2 separate regions of the Homo sapiens genome follow, and region 2 is linked to region 1. The links are contacts of gene promoters, found by promoter capture Hi-C in human tissues and cell types (Jung and others, 2019). All regions are on one chromosome and are shown on one strand. Each heading gives the region's core, a stretch centred on a gene start or on the middle of the fragment in contact. The rest is flanking DNA. Distances are from core to core; before and after follow the strand shown. Region 1 holds the start of IRF6 (interferon regulatory factor 6). Region 2 overlaps HHAT (hedgehog acyltransferase).

Region 1 (4,380 bases), core at 733-3,232:
TTATGAAGGATGGTAACAACAATCCTTTGTATCTGTGTAGGCTTTACAATTTTTACATGAACCTTTACCTAACATGTCTGATTTCATCCTCATAAACCTGAATGTGATATTACTATCCCCATTTTACATCTGGGCTGAGGTGCTTTATTTCCTAAGTCACAGTGTTCTGTACCAAACCCTGCCACTGCACCTTGTCTTCCATGTCCCTCTCATCTTCTGCGCACCAAGAAAGTAAACTAAAAACATCAACAAAGATCCCAGCAGCATAGAGGGCCAATAAAGTGATTGAGGTGGAGACTGCATAACATCCACTCTCAAACACACCTAAATCAGAGTTCTCTTTCTAAACACTCTTGCCACCCAAATCCCAACGCCTGAAGAACCACCTTAGCCTAGTTGAACTCATCTTGGTATCTCTAGCTGCCATCACAGCAAAATGTAAGGCCTGTGTCTCTAACAGGTACTTAAACAGCCAAAGGACAATGATGCTAACCTATCTATTCCCCTCACAGTGAGCATAGAGGAGGGACACTTTCAGCCTCCTCCGAGCATAACTGTCCTCTCCCATACCCCTATTCTAGGGAGCAGGTCCTCCATAAACACCCTCATTGCCACCTCCATAGCTCCTCCCCAGACTAGTTTCCAGGGGCACTGCCACACAAAAGCCGAGATTTGGCCGTCAGTGGTTTTGCTCAGGTTAAAACACACGCCATTTCTCGCAGACAATTCTTAGCAGTCCCAGCTCTTCCCTTTCTCCTGAAAGAAATGAAATGCCATCGTCTAAGTTCCGTTCCTCAGGCTTCCCTGTTTAGCCCTGCTTAGGGGTAAACTGCAGGCCTCTAGTCAAAATGCCCACACCCTTCCCTTCTGCTGGATGGAAGCTGGGGGATGGCGAATGGGAGTTACAAGGTATTGAGTGCCACTGTCATACATCATACACACGTCTCATCCTAAACCACACTCCTGGGTCAACACCAGCTTTCACCAATCCCACCCAAGCGCCTTCCTCTCTCTATCCATCTCTTTTCCCTGACTTCCACTCTTGACATCCACCAAGAGAACAGGTTGGAACAGGATGACCCCTTTACCACAAAGCAGGCTCCCTGTAAAGAGTGACACCTCAGGCCTCCTTTCCAAGTCAGGCCTGGGAGACTTTCCCCATTCTCCACACCACCCTCCAGCCCCTTCGGGCAAAGAGGGCCCACCCCCAGAGCAACCACACCCCAGCGCCACCCTCCCCAGCACCTAGCTCCGCTCCTTGGAAATCCAAGGTTGTCTCCCAGGCCCAGGGCGAAGGGCCTAACTGTGCCAAACAGACTCAGGGAGGGAAGACAAACCGCCAATGCTCCAAAGCTCCTGGCCACCCTCACTCCAGTTTCCCAAAACGCCCACTAGGATCAAGGACCTGCGGACCTGGGAAGTCCCCTCTCTGGGACACAGGGGCCAGCCGCAAGTTGGTAAGACTGAAGGGGGCGCGGTGCTTTAGCTCTACCGGATAGTGGGGTTGTTGACGGCCGAGAGCAGTGCCCTCCGCTTCGGCGGTGGGGGTAGGGAGAGTAGACACAAGTGTAGATTCGAGAGGGGCCTAGCGCTACAGAACTGAGGCCGCCCCAAAGCTATCTGGAAAAGGGCGACAGGCACCCAGCCCCAGTGGGTACCCACCCCAAACACACAGATGCCCCCAAGCAAGTTCTCTCACCCCCTACAAACTCCGGGGATGGGTCCTACCCCACCCACGGGGGAGCCTCTCCTCCCTCAAGCTGGTCCCCAGAAGTTGGCGTACCCACCTTTGCTCAATCTGTCCACCAGAAGCGGACGTCCCTCCGAACCAAGTCCGCAGCGAAGATCACCCGTCGCTACCACGCTCCTCGACGTCTTAGCCAAGGGGCGCCTGGCTCTACCCAAGTAGGGACTGCAGGTTCCTCTCCCCGTCCCGCACCAGCCCTTACCTGCCCAGCCCAGGTGCGCCGAGCTCACGTCAGCGCCTCGCCCCAGGACGCCGCAGCCTTCGCATCCGCCCGGCCACGCCTCCCAGGTGTGGCCACGCCCCCCGGCGTTCGGGATTGGCGAGTTGCAAGAAATATGACACTCCGCGTTTCTGGGCTGCCCGGCCCAGCGGCGTCCGTCCAGCGTCCCACCCTACTCCTCCGCTTCTAACTCCGGCTAAGAAAGTCCCAGATTCAGGCCTAGCCTTACGGCTCAGGGCTGGTGGTCCTGGGAACTGGAAGCGACTGGGAGTTCAGATCTAAGTCGAGAGGGTGCCTCCCTCCTTCACGGCCCATAATTACCCTGCAGTATGCAGACAGTTAAGCACAAATAAGGGTTTTGAGATTCTGGGTTGGCCCTACTACTCGTGGGCCTGTGTAAGTGGAGTTGCACATGAAGAAGAGAACCAGGACACTTGGTCCTGTCTGGGAGAAGCCATAGGCTTTCAGGACTAGAATTCTACCTTTACTCTGCCTCTTACCCGTGTGACCCTGGGTAAGTTACTTAGCTTCTTGGCTTCTTGGTTTCAGTTTCCTCATCTCTTCAATGAGAATAATAATTCCTTCCTTCTTTTTTGTTGTTGTTTGCTTTTTTCTCTTTCTTTTTTCTTCCTTTTTTTTTTTTTTTTTTTTTGGAGATGGGGTCTTGCTATTAAGTTACACAGTCTGGTCTGCAACACCTGGGCTCAAGGGATCCGCCTCAGCCTCGCAAAGTGCTGGGATTACAGGCACTGGCACCCAGTTCAATTCCTTTTTTTTTTTTTTTTTTTTTTTTTAGGCAGGGTCTGGCTCTGTCATCCAGGCTAGAATGCAGTGGCACAATCATAGCTCAACCTCCTGGGCTCAAGCAATTATCCCACCTCACCCTCCCAAGTAACTGGAAATATAGGCATGGGTCACCATGCCCGGCTAATTTTTTTTTTTTTTTTTTAGAGACAGGGTCTGACTATGTTGCCCAGACTGGAGTTCCTGCTTCCTCTGATCACTATCGTGTAATGAGTAAAAGCATAGCCTCTGGAGCCAACTATTGGGGTTTAGACCCCAACTCCATCAGTTACTACAGACTTGGGAAAGTTTCTTAAGCTTTTTAGGCCCTGGTGTCTTATCTGTAGAAAGAGGTTAGTAATAGTACCTACCTCAGGGGTATTGTGGGAATTCAATAACTACATGTAAACTGCTTGCAACAATATTTAGCACTTATCAAGTGCTTTATATGTACTTGCAATTATTATTGGCATAAAGATTAAAAATACCATATAGACAGTGCGTCAGAGAACAAGAAGGCATTCCTTGTTATTACCTGAAATTCAAGTCCTGCATGTACCCTAACAGGTGCTTGATGAGATTGCCCTCACCTTCCTCATCTATCTAGAGGACCGGTTTGCAGGAGGCTGTGCAACAGTAAATGAGACTTTTAAAAATCCCCCACCCTCAACCACTGAGCTGTCGTAGGTGAAATGGGGCATGCGCAGGTCACTTAGGTTTTGGTGTTTAAAGTAATGAGTGAGAAACTGTGGAGGAGTGGTACAATGAGTTGAACTGTCACCCACATACAAAAAAATTTGTATTTGTATTTTGAAGTCCTGACCACCCCCACTGCAACCACAGCCAGATGTCAGAATATGACCTTATTGGGAGACAGGATCCTTATGGAGGTAATCAAGTTAAAACGTGGTTATTAGGGTGAGCCTGAATCCAATATGAATGGTGTCCTTATAAAAGGAGGAGATTTGGACACAGAGGCAGATACCCACAGAGGGAAGGTGATATGAAGAGACATAAAGAGAAGACAGCTAGCTGCAACCCAAGGAGAGATACCTGGAATAGAGCTCTTTTTTTTTTTTTTTTTTTCACATCCCTCAGACCCTTGATTTTAGACTTTTAAACTCCAGAACTATGAAACAAAAAATTTCTGTTGTTCAAGCCACCCACTCTGAGGTACATTGTTATGGTAGCCCTAGCATACTCATACAAGTGTGTTGAAGAGCCCCAGATTGATAATAATGTAGGCATGATTCCAAGTCCCAATTTAGCTTTGGAATGTAGCCAGCAAAGGCCTGGGAAGGCAGCAAGGCCCCAAGGCCTGACTCAGCCAGCCTCTGTCTCAACCACTGCCCTGTGGCCACTCTTCCCTTCACTGGGGGAAGGGCAAGCTCATCAGCACAGCTAGCTGTTTACTGCTGATGAGCTCACTAGACAAACAGCATCTTCCATCTGGCCCAGGGCTGGGCTCTGGGGACCAAACAAGCTCCACTGCAGGTGTATGAGAGGGATGAGGGGTAAGGCCATTGGGAGAGTGTCATTTGAGGGGAGTCAAAACCCCAGTGGCATACAAGTATGAGCCCACACACAGGCACTCACTTTTGCACCAGCTGAAATTCCCATGACTAAGGGG
Region 2 (3,856 bases), core at 482-2,981, 580 kb after region 1:
TTCAGGCTTTCATGTTTGCCTTGAAATGTGTGACTGAGCTCAGAGTCTATAAAGCTTTTGCTTCAAGAAGCAGTGAGTCAATATTTTTCTTACCCAAATCATTAAACATCATCTTGACCTATTCATTGGCCCAGCTTTTCTGTTTGGTCATTTCCCTTAGGTAACTTTTTTAAATAGGGAAGAATAGACATGAGAGAGACATTTTTATTTCCTTTAAATGAATGTTTTCTGTGATAATTAGAGGTGAAAGGCCATGTGTAATTTTTGTTGATGGGATTTTACCAGCAGAGTTTTCAGGAGTCCTGGACTTTCTGGTGGAACAGAAAGTCTTATATGTTTTGTTGTATTATATCCTTTTTTCCACCCTAAAAAATTAAACTTGGAGAAGTTTCGAGGCATAGGTAAGCTTGGGGTCATGAATTCTAAATGTAATTCTAAGTGTTCAAAAATGTTGTATTTAAAAAGCTCATATGTTTTTCTTTTTTTTTTTTTTTCTTTTTGAGTTTGTATTAAAAAAGTGTCTTGGCTTTTGTGTCTTTTAGCTGTATCCCTGTTATAAAAGTGGTATTTTACTAGCATGGCCTCATCACATGACCTTTGAACTTATTTACATTTGTTTAGTTAATTGACTCTTGGCTAATTTGGAAATCTCTAGATGGGGAAATAAGCTGTGGATCAGGGATCAGGAGCCAGGTTAAAGCTTTGAGTTCTCTGCTGTGCTGCCTGGCTGTGTGTTTGTGGGCATGTCCCAGACTCTGGTGTAGTCATCTCTAAATGGAAGCAATTCAACTACATACATGATTTCCAGCAAGGGACAGGGGCTTTATGAGCAGGTCATGTATCAGGATCTGGGGTGTGGGGAGCATGTGTAATCTGAGAATGCGCAGTATTGTATTTCCTTATTTGAAGAAATGGGAAAACTTTTTTAAAATGAGTGGCACAAAGTAAAGCATGATACGGTCTTGGCTGGTGGTTTACAAGGGATGGGAAGCACATGGGTCTAGCAGTTAGTAGCGGGTACTGCTGTTTAATAGCACTGTGTGCTGCTACAAACTTTTAATGTACATATGCTCTTATTTAAGCCTCAAAAATCCCTGTAAGGTAAGTACTATTGTCATATGAAGAAACAGAACAGAAAGGTTAAGAATCATGTTCAAGGTCATCACAGCAAGTGTGTGAGTAGATCTGGGCTCTGGACCCAAAACAAGCCTCCAGTCTTAGCTACCTTGCACTCATAGTCTGTTATGAATCAAGATCAATTTTATATGTATCTTACCTTCTGCAAAAAAGAGTTTTATTTGTGTGCAACTGGTATGACATTACCCCACAATCTTAGGTACACCAAAAAAATCACACTTTTCTTCAAATCCAATTAAGAGAGGCTTCAAGTTCCACTTGCAGAGATTGGTGAGGAGTTCAATATCAGTGGTCATTGCAGGAGTCCTTTTCTTTTTTTCTTTTTTTTTTTTTTTTTTTTTTTTTTGAGACAGAGTCTCGCTCTGTCGCCCAGGCTGGAGTGCAGTGGCGGGATTTCGGCTCACTGCAAGCTCCGCCTCCCGGGTTCACGCCATTCTCCTGCCTCAGCCTCCCAAGTAGCTGGGACTACAGGCGCCCGCCACTACGCCCGGCTAATTTTTTGTATTTTTAGTAGAGACGGGGTTTCACCGTTTTAGCCGGGATGGTCTCGATCTCCTGACCTCGTGATCCGCCCGCCTCGGCCTCCCAAAGTGCTGGGATTACAGGCGTGAGCCACCGCGCCCGGCCTGCAGGAGTCCTTTTCCAGGCACACATTTTGCTTAGAAAATTCTGAGACCTCAAATCCCCCTCCATCCTGGTAGTGCTGAACTGTTCACTGGCCAAGCCTGCATTGCCTGTTTCAGGGTGACCGATGACAGTGTGCATCTCTCCACGCTCCTCTTGGCCTCCGTGGTCCTTTCTGGGGCTCCTGAGGCCATGACTTTGAGGTGCTGGTTCCTAAGCGTCCACATGTCCACTGTTGTCAGAGGTTTCTACCTTCTCCTCCTGGGGAGCTTCATAGATGTGGAACCTGGTACTGATGCAGACACAGAATGCCACATGGACACAGAGCTTCTTGGGGGGAAGGGAAGTGTACCTTTCATTCCTTCATTATAAATTTATATGAACTTAGTTAATTTCTCTGACAAATTATTCTGTCTGTAAATGGCAACAAGACTCAGAATAACTGACTTTAAGCCATTTTATTAGTGTCCAGTTTACATTTCTCAGTGAAAATATCTAGTTGTCTAAACTGGGATAGCCTCAATTCATTACTTGTACTATCCCTGTGAACTTGGGTAAATGAATTGAGTTCCTTACGTCTCTGTTTCATGTTTTGCAAAATGGAAATAATAATAGCATCTATACTACAGAGGGCCCTGGGAGATCAGCTGTAACAAAGACACTGAGTTGTAGAAAGTCCGAGGTGCATTTGGGGAATGGCAATGGCAATCATTCCGGTTAGGTTGGTGCAAAAGTAATTGCAGTTTTTGCCATTACTAATAGCAAGCTGGAGGGGAGTGTACAGGTGGGTGGGGAAAGGCTAGAAGTGTGTAAATCCTCTTTTACAGAGTTTGGACTCACACTGGCCTTCTTTCCAGTTTTATTAACTGGAGTTTGTGTTCTGACTCAGACGTGTACTGAAATCCCTCTGATAAACTATTTTGTCCTATTTAGGATGCGACCGACTTTGAGTGGAGCTTCTGGATGGAATGGGGGAAGCAGTGGCTGGTGTGGCTTCTCCTTGGCCACATGGTAGTGTCTCAAATGGCCACACTGCTGGCAAGAAAGGTATGATTATATGTGTTGTTACCTTTTAAGTGTGTTTTTCCTTTGCTTCTTGTGAAGAAAGAGTCCAAGCTAGGAATCGGAAGACTTGGATATTAGCACTGGGAGCCTGGAAAAAATGATAAAGTTGTTAACAATCAATATAACATTTAAGATAAAAGTTCATAGTTCATATCCTGCACTTGCTTTCTCCAACTTATTTTCAGGCATTGAATATAAAGGTTGTAGTGTAAAACTAACCATGGAGGGTGGTGGTGGTCTTTAAGATCACTTCTAATCAAATGATCAAAAAGTTGCCTGTGGTTGAGAATCTGGATGAGTTCACTTGCAAATTCAGAAGAAAGTTGATGATTTACTTAAGAAGTGGGAATAATTTTAAAGTCAAGTAGTTTATGCTGCTGTCACTGTTTTAGATGGGAAGTCCAGTAGCATTTTGCTCTTGCCTTGGGCTGGCTTAGAGGATGAGAGATTCTTCAAAGTGGTTATTTGAAAACTACTTTTATGTGAGGCAGGATTGAGACCCTCTTCACAGGTCTAGCTACCAAGGGACCTGATATACTGCCAGGAGGATCTTTCTGTCACCTGGGGGCCAGGGTATTGCCCAGAGGCCTCTGATAAATACTTCTTGCTTGCTATAGATTCCTGATGGAGGAAAAAGTCTGTGCTTGGAAATTTACCGAATAAAAGCAAGACACAACCAAAACCTGATTTGGAAGTCAACCTAGGAAAAATGTTTTGATTCTCAGAGGTTCCCGCAGGTGATAAAACTGAAGTAGAAGAGAAACAGAAACCTCTGGAGATTGAGACCAGAAAGTGAGATGCAGAAATAGGATGTCCTGTGGTTAGAGATGCGCACCTAACTTGGGCCAGTTTCTGACTCTTTCCTGAAAATTGGCGTTTCCTGGGCTTGCTCCTCACCCTGGAAGATAGGAAATCCCGACAGCATATTAACTTCTTCTTGAATATGATACTGATTTTTTTTTTGTACTCAAGTGGCTGCTGAACTGGCAAAATCCAAAATATTAGATGTTGTCAGATCTGAGTATATTTT

What was found. Contacts are between HindIII fragments. The study calls those that stand out against the background at their distance.
Region 2: a fragment that was not itself captured here is called in contact with the fragment with the promoter of IRF6 in region 1 in 1 of the 25 tissues and cell types used here (H1 embryonic stem cells).

The regions. Positions count from the first base shown.
Region 1 is chr1:209,804,160-209,808,539 of GRCh38, forward strand. IRF6 (interferon regulatory factor 6) reads right to left here and starts at 1,983. Exons shown (of 9, transcript NM_006147.4): 1 at 1,788-1,983. RefSeq lists a silencer at 1,905-2,248. The HindIII fragment of the contact is 7,591 bases long and covers 1-4,380 here.
Region 2 is chr1:210,384,774-210,388,629 of GRCh38, forward strand. HHAT (hedgehog acyltransferase) reads left to right here. Exons shown (of 12, transcript NM_018194.6): 4 at 2,695-2,808. Among named protein-coding and RNA genes, the nearest start is that of HHAT, 58 kb to the left of the region's middle. The HindIII fragment of the contact is 5,842 bases long and covers 1-3,856 here.